Regions from separate parts of the Homo sapiens genome. Here regions 2 and 3 are each linked to region 1. Evidence: promoter capture Hi-C in 16 types of primary human blood cells and fetal thymus (Javierre and others, 2016). All regions are on one chromosome and are shown on one strand. Each heading gives the region's core, a stretch centred on a gene start or on the middle of the fragment in contact. The rest is flanking DNA. Distances are from core to core; before and after follow the strand shown.

Region 1 (2,700 bases), core at 14-2,513:
ATGCTAAGAATTGTTCACTTTAAATGGGTGAATTGTACAGTATGTGAATTTTCATGTTAATGAAGCTGATTTTTTTTAAAGAGTAAGGCAACGATAAAAGATTACACATAGAAGGCCGGGCGCGGTGGCTCACGCCTGTAATCCCAGCACTTTGGGAGGCCGAGGCGGGCAGATCACAAGGTCAGGAGATCGAGACCATCCTGGCTAATACAGTGTAACCTTATCTCTACTAAAAATACAAAAAATTAGCCGGGCGTGGTGGCGGGCACCTGTAGTCCCACCTACTCGGGAGGCTGAGGCAGGAGAATGGCATGAACCCGGGAGGTAGAGGTTGCAGTGGGCCGAGATCGCGCCACTGCACTCCAGCCTGGGCGACAGAGAGAGACTCTGTCTCAAAAAAAAAATAAAATAAAATTACACATAAAAAATACAAAGGATATGAAGAGACAATTCCCAGAAGAGGAAATGAAATGGTCAATACACAAGACTTGGTATTGACCTCATCAGTAGTCAGAGAAATGTAAAAATAAAGCAATGAGACATATTTTTATTTAACTAAATTCTATTGAGAAGAATTAAGAAAGAATAAAACATACATATGATGCTTGAAATAATGCAGAGCGATGGTCTTTTCACACATTGCTGGGTAGAATTTAAACTGTTAAATAGTTTTGGAAAGTAGAATGCCCATGTCCGTTAAATTTAAAATACTTATACTCTTTGAATTCATGGCCCCTTTTTTAAGACTGTAGCTCACAGAAATAAAATACTTGTGGCTACACTTTAAAATAAGTTATGACAAAAGGGAAATTAGGTGGAAATGGAAAGATATTTATGTTGCTTTATTAATTGCAAAAAGCAATTATTAATTGAAAGTAAGGCCCCAGTTTAATTTTTGTAAAAACAAACAGCAATAAATGCATATAGGAATACAAACACATATAATATTTGTGTGTTTATGTGAGCATGGAAACACTTGTAGACTAATATATAATTATGTGCCTTCCCTTTTTTGTGCAGTTTTGTATTGCTTTGCTAGTTTCAATGAAAAGGTATGACATTGGCAGTTTGAACGACAGAGAACAGTTTTAATGAACAGAGGGTGGGTGGGGTAGTTAGAAAGGGAGGGATCGCGCTAATGTTGCAGCCATTTTGTGTGCGCTCCTCTTACAGATAGTGCGGCGGCCCAGGCGTCGCGTCTACGCGGGGGATTACAGTAACCCGGTTGTCAGTGATGAGTCAGAGTGCGTGGTGCTGATGCTGCTGCCATTTCATCACCTTTGCGAGCGCAGCATCCATCCCTCCGCTCTCCCGGCGCCTGGGCCTACCCAGCTTCGGGCTCCCAGGCCAGCGATGCGCTCGCGGCTGAGCTAGATCCTGCCGAGCCGCGCTCTCTGAGGCGTCGGCGGGGCGCCCCCTCCCGCCGTCCCCGGTCCGGGCCAAGGAGACCTGCAGAGCCGCGGCCATGGAGGCCATCTGGCTGTACCAGTTCCGGCTCATTGTCATCGGGGATTCCACAGTGGGCAAGTCCTGCCTGATCCGCCGCTTCACCGAGGGTCGCTTTGCCCAGGTTTCTGACCCCACCGTGGGGGTGGATTTTTTCTCCCGCTTGGTGGAGATCGAGCCAGGAAAACGCATCAAGCTCCAGATCTGGGATACCGCGGGTCAAGAGAGGTTCAGGTGGGAGCGCAGTCCGGGCCCGCAAGCAGTGGGAGGGTCTTCGGGGTTTGCACCGCCTCTGGGGAGAGAGGACTTCCTGGTTCTAGGTGCGGTCCAGGAGGGCAACACCAAGGGTCTTGAGGATTCTGCCGAAGCCCACCTTCGGCTAACCCGGAGTTTAGTGCAAGGAAAGAAGCGCCCTGGCAGGGAAGGCCGGTCAATAACACATATTGCTTGCACCACAACTCCACCAACCTGCCCTTTGGTGGCTAACAAACTAGCTGGAATTGATCTCTGTATCTGTAATTCATCAATCTCAGTCCCTATGTTACATACTTTCAAAAACGTTCCCAGGTCATCCTAACATAACTGACAGAGATTTAAATACATAAATACATGTGTATTATGTTTTATTTCCACATCTGTGTGTGTGCACATATATATGCTAACATATGTTCTAACATGAAATAGATACGATTGATTCCTTCTTGCAACCAGCACACATTCAGTGATCATCTACTATGTGCCAGACTCTGGGCTTGTTCCTGGGAAAACAGTGTGAGGAGACTCACACAAGGGGATGCCATGTAATCTAAACAGACAAAGCCCCTTCATTCTTGGAACTTCTGTGCTAACATAGTTGAGGGAAATAGATAATCAGCAATTACGAAAGTGTGTCTTGCTCATATTTGTATGCCCACTCCCTACTGTAACACTTGGCACAAAATGAACATGCTTAATTTCAATCAATGAATTCATTGAATAATCAATGAATATGTTTACTTTCACTCAGAACCCTTTGCTTTTCTATTGTAGCATGTATTATTTGTAATTATATGTATGAACACAGAGGAGGAAAGGTTAACTGGAGAAGATGAGACCGGATGAGTATGACTGCCTAAGCAAAGACAGGAAACGCCCAGGGATAGGAAACAGCATGAATAAAGACAGAAGTGAGAGGGAGCAGAGTGTACACAGAAAACTTTGCAGAGAACAATTTGAACTAAAGTAGAGCAGCAGGAACCAGATCAAGAAAACTCA
Region 2 (2,711 bases), core at 152-2,651, 360 kb before region 1:
TAGTATACTAACTATGGAAAATAATACAGAGGTTCCTCAAAAAATTTAAAAAAGCCTTGCCAGCATCTGTTGTTTCTTGACCCTTTAATAATCACCATTCTGACTGGTGTGGGATGGTATTTCATTGTGGTTTTGATTTGCATTTCTCTAATGATCAGTGATGTTGAGATTTTTTTCATATGTTTGTTGGCCACGTAAATATCTCCTTTTGAGAAGTGTCTGTTCATGTCCTTTGACCACTTTTTTATTTTTTTCTTGTAAATTTGTTTAAGTTCCTTGTAAATTCTGGATATTAGACCTTTGTCAGATGGGTAGATTGCAAAAGTTTTCTCACATTCTTAGGTTGCCTGTTCGCTCTGATGATAGTTTCTTTTCCTGTGCAGAAGCTCTTTAGTTTAATTAGACCCCACTTGTTAATTTTTGCCTTTGTTGCAATTGCTTGGAGAAATAGGAACACTTTTACACTGTTGGCGGGAATGTAAATTAGTTCAACCATTGTGGGAGACGGTGTGGCAATTCCTCAAGGAGCTAGAACCAGAAATACCATTTGACCCAATAATCCCATTACTGGGTATATACTCAAAGGAATACAAATCATTCTGTTATAAAGATACGTGTACGTGTATGTTCAGTGCAGCACTATTCACAATAGCAAACACATAGAATCAACCCAAATGCCCATCAATGATAGACCGTATAAAGAAAATGTGGTACATATACACCATGGAATACTATGCAGCCATAAAAAGGAATGAGATCATGTCCTTTGCAGGGACATGGATGAAGCTGGAAGTCATCATCTTCAGCAAACTAACACAGGAACAGAAAATCAAACACTGCATGTTCTCAATCACGGTGGGAGCTGAACAATGAGAACACATGGACACAGGGAAGGGAACAATACATAACGGGCCTGTTGGGGGGTGGGAGGGAGAGCATCAGGATAAATAGATAATACATGTGGGGCTTAATACCTAGATGATGGGTTGATAGGTGCAGCAAACCACCATGGCACACATTTACCTATGTAACAAACCTGCACGTTCTGCACATGTATCTCAGAACTTAAAATTAAATTAAATTAAAAAAATTAAAAAAGAACTAGCTTATGATCCAGCAATCCCACTATTGGGTATATATCCAAAGAAAATGTAATCAGTATGTCAAAGAGATATCTGCATACCCATGTTTATCGCAGCACTATTCACAATAGCCAAGATATGGAATAAAACTAAGTGTCCATCAATGAGTGCATGGATTTAAAAAGTGGCATATATACCACTTGAAATATTATTCCAGTACCACTTTGGAATATTATTTAGCCATAAAAAAGGAAATCATGTTATTTGTCACAGCATGGATGAACCTGGAGGACATTATGTTAGGTGAAATAAGCCAGGCACAGAAAGACAAATACTGCATGATCTCATGCGTGTGAAATCCACAAGTTAATCTCATTAAAGTAGAATAGAATGGTGGCTACCTAGAGGGCAGGGTGGTTGGTTACAGGGGGCAGGTGGAGAGATGTTGGTTAAAGAATAGAAAATTACAGTTAAATAGGAGGAATAAGTTCTATCGTACAGTATGGTGACTATAGTTAATAACAATATGTTGTATTCTTGAAAAATAGCTAAGAGATTGGATGTTGCATTCTCACTACGAATATGATAACTATGTGTGATAATGCACTTTTGTTAATTATGTAGATTTTACCATTCCACAATGTATATATCCTTCAAAACATCATACTATACACAATAAATACATATAATTTTATCTGTCATTTTAACAAAAGAAAGATATACCAGCTCTGGCTTCAGATGAAGGAGCTTTGGGGTAGAATGATTTGAAACCTCTGCTCCCTATCAAATTCTAATGCTTTCTCAGGTCATATTGAGTTGAGATAATTGAACTGAGGGAACACTTACTTACGTGGTAATTTTTGGCTAAAAAAACAGGACACTGAAAACATGCCGACAGTATAAAAGAATGAAGTTGAACCCTTACATCTCATCATATATAAAAATTAACTAAAAATGTATCAAAGATATAAATGTAAGAGCTAAAATATAAAACTCTTAGAAGAAACATAGATGTAACTCCTTATGACTATAGTTTGGGTAGTAGTTTCTTAGATATAACACCAAAAGTACAAGCAACAAAAGGCGAAAATAGATAAATTCAACAACATCAAAATTAAAAACTAGTATGCTTCAAAAGACACCATCAGGACAGTGAAAAGACTACTCACAGATGGGAAAAAATTTTGCAAATCATATATCTGACAAGATCTTGTATCTAGAATATGTAAAATGCTCTTACAACTCAACAATAAAATGAAAAATAAGCCAATTTAAAACTGGGCTAAGGATTTGCATAGGTATTCCTCCAAATAACATATTCAAATGAACAATAAGCAAATAAAAAGAAGCTCAACATCATTAGTCCCTAGAGAAATAAAAATCTAAACTATAATGTGATACCACTTCACCTCCTCTAGGATAGTTACAATAATAATAAGGAAATCAACTAAAATGAGTGTTGGAGAGGATGTGGATAAATTGGAGACCTCATACGTTGCCAGTAAGAATGTAAAATTGTGTAGCCATTGTGGAAAATAGTGTGGCAGTTCCTCAATTGGTTAAACATAGAATTACCATATAATCCAGCAATTCCATCCCTAGAAAAATGAGAATGTATTTACACAAAAT
Region 3 (2,700 bases), core at 75-2,574, 390 kb before region 1:
AAAACAAAAAATAGACAAATGGGAATGAAACTAAAAAGCTTCTGCACAGCAAAAGAATCAGCAGAGTAAACAGAAAACCTATAGAATGGAAGAAAATATTTTCAAACTATGCATCTAACAAAAGGCTAATATCCAGAATCTACAAGAAACTCAAACAACTCAACAAGAAAAAAATCCCAAATAACCCCATTAAAAATGGCCAAAGGACACAACAGACATTTTTCAAAAGAAGACGTACAGCCAACAAATATATGAAATCATGCTCAACATCACTAATCATCAGAGAAATGCAAATTAAAACCCCAATGAGATATCATTGTATACCAGTCAGAATGGCTATTACTAAAAAGTCAAAAAAACAACAGATGTTGGCAAGGATTTAGAGGAAAGGGTATGCTTATACATTGTTGATGGAAATGTAAATTAATACAACCTCTACAGAAAACAGTGTGGGGATTCTCAAAGAACGAAAAATAGAACTACCATTCAATCTAGCAATCTCACTATTGAGTATCTACCCAATGGAAAAGAAATCATTAATTAAAAGGATACTTGCACTTATATGTTTATTGCAGCACTATTCACAATAGCAAAGTCATGGAATCAACCTAAGTGTGCATAAACAGATGATTAGATAAAGAAGATTTTATATTATACACACACACACACACACACACACACACACACACACACACACACACACCATGGAATACTATGCAGCCATAAGAAAGAATGAAATCATGTCTTTTGCAGTTGCATGGATGGAACTGGAGGTCATTATCCTAAGTGAAGTAGCTCAGAAACAGAAAGTTGAAAACTGCATGTTCTCACTTGTAAGTGGGAAGTAAAAATGAGTACACATGGACATACAGAGTGAAATAGTAGACACTGGAGATTCTAAAAGGTGGGATAGTAGGAGGGGGTGAGGGTTGAAAAATTACCTAAGGATATAAGAGCCACTATTCAGGTGATGAGTAAACCAAAAATCCAGACTTTATCATTATGTAATATATCCACATAACAAAAATATGGCACTTCTATCTCCTAAATCTATAAAAATTTTAAAAATGTAAAAAGCAACAGAAAATAGTTACCAAATATGGTAGATATACATTTTAAAAATCAATAACCACTTTAAATATAAATGATCTAAATGCACCAATTCAAAAAAAGATTGCCAATGTAGGTTTTTAATAAAATCCAACTACATGTTGTCTACAACAAACCCACTTTAAATATATAGACTCAGTTTTATGAGCCATATTAGCAAATTAATCTAAACTGAGGGAAAGGTCAAAGGAATCCTGATTTATAGCTAGTTGTCAGAAGTATAGGTGACAAGCTACTACTTATAACTGGCATCTGAATATACACAGTATTGCAGGGTTGAGCCCTTAACCTGTGGGATCTGACATTGTTTCCAGGCAGATGGTGTCATAATTTAATTTAATTATAGGACACCAAGTGGGTGTCCACAGGAGAATAGATTGTTGGTGTGGAGAAATCCCCATATGTAATTTGGTGACCAGAAGTGGTCTGTGCTAAGCATGAGAGTAGGAAAAACAGTTGGTTTTCCTATTATATGTAAAGTCCCAATAACCTTTTCTATAGATATGGAAATGACAATACTAAAATTCATATGGAATTGCAATGAGTCCAAGTAGCCAAATCAATTTAGAAAACAAAATAAAAAGTTGGAAGACTCACACTTTCCAATTTCAAAACTTATTATAACACTACAGTAATCCAAACAATGTGGCACTAGCATAAGGATAGACAATGGCATCTATAAATCACTGAAATGGAATTGAGAATCCAGAAATAAACCCAAACATCTATGTATAATTGATTTTCAACCAGGATGCCAAGACCATACAATGGGGAAAGAACAGTCTCTTCAACAAATGGTTCTGGGAAAACTGGATATCCACATGCAAAAGAATGAAGTTGGACCTTTACCTAACATTATGTATAAAAATTAACTCAAAATAGTTCAAAGACCTAAATATAAGAGCTAAAACTGTACCAATATTAGAAGAAAACTTGGGAATAAATCATGATGTTGAATCAGGCAATGGTTTCTTAGATATGGCACCAAAAGCACAAGTAACAAAATTTTAAAAACCATAAAATGGACTTCATCAAAATTCAAAACCTTAGTGCATCAAAAGACATTATTAAGAGGTGAAAAGACAGAATGAGAGAACATATTTGCAAATCATATATCTGATAACTAGATAAGGGTCCATATATCTGATAACTAGATAAGGATCTAGTGTTCAGAATATATGAGTAACTCCTACAACTCAATAATAATGAGAAAAGCAACCCAATTTAAAAATGAGCAAATGACTTGAATAGACATTTCTCTAAAGGAGATATGCAAATGGCCAGTAAGCACATGAAAAGAGGCTCAATATTAATCACTGGGGAAATGCAAATCAAAACAACAATTAGATATCACTTCACACCCATTAGGATGCTAATAATAACAATAATGGCAGAAAATAACAAATGTTGGTGAGAATGTAGATAAACTGAACCATCAACGAGAATTTAAAATTGTGCAATCATGGCAAAAAACATTCTGGAAGTTACTCAAAAGCTTACACATAAAGTTACTATATCATCCAGCAATTCCACTCCAAGATATTTACTCAAGAGACTCAAAAACAAATATCCAACCAAAAATATGCTCAC

The links. The method cuts DNA at HindIII sites, captures the fragments that hold promoters and counts their contacts. A CHiCAGO score of 5 or more calls a contact.
Region 2: a fragment that was not itself captured here is called in contact with the fragment with the promoter of RAB39B in region 1 in 1 of 17 cell types (neutrophils); the score reaches 5.7 in neutrophils.
Region 3: a fragment that was not itself captured here is called in contact with the fragment with the promoter of RAB39B in region 1 in 1 of 17 cell types (erythroblasts); the score reaches 5.6 in erythroblasts.

Annotation. Positions count from the first base shown.
Region 1 is chrX:155,263,054-155,265,753 of GRCh38, reverse strand. RAB39B (RAB39B, member RAS oncogene family) reads left to right here and starts at 1,263. Exons shown (of 2, transcript NM_171998.4): 1 at 1,263-1,680. The coding sequence starts at 1,466. RefSeq lists silencers at 1,216-1,265, 1,276-1,485. The HindIII fragment of the contact is 10,241 bases long and covers 1-2,700 here.
Region 2 is chrX:155,626,031-155,628,741 of GRCh38, reverse strand. All of the region lies in intron 1 of SPRY3 (sprouty RTK signaling antagonist 3), which reads right to left. Among named protein-coding and RNA genes, the nearest start is that of TMLHE, 14 kb to the right of the region's middle. The HindIII fragment of the contact is 6,921 bases long and covers 1-2,711 here.
Region 3 is chrX:155,652,690-155,655,389 of GRCh38, reverse strand. All of the region lies in intron 1 of SPRY3 (sprouty RTK signaling antagonist 3), which reads right to left. Among named protein-coding and RNA genes, the nearest start is that of TMLHE, 41 kb to the right of the region's middle. The HindIII fragment of the contact is 2,567 bases long and covers 41-2,607 here.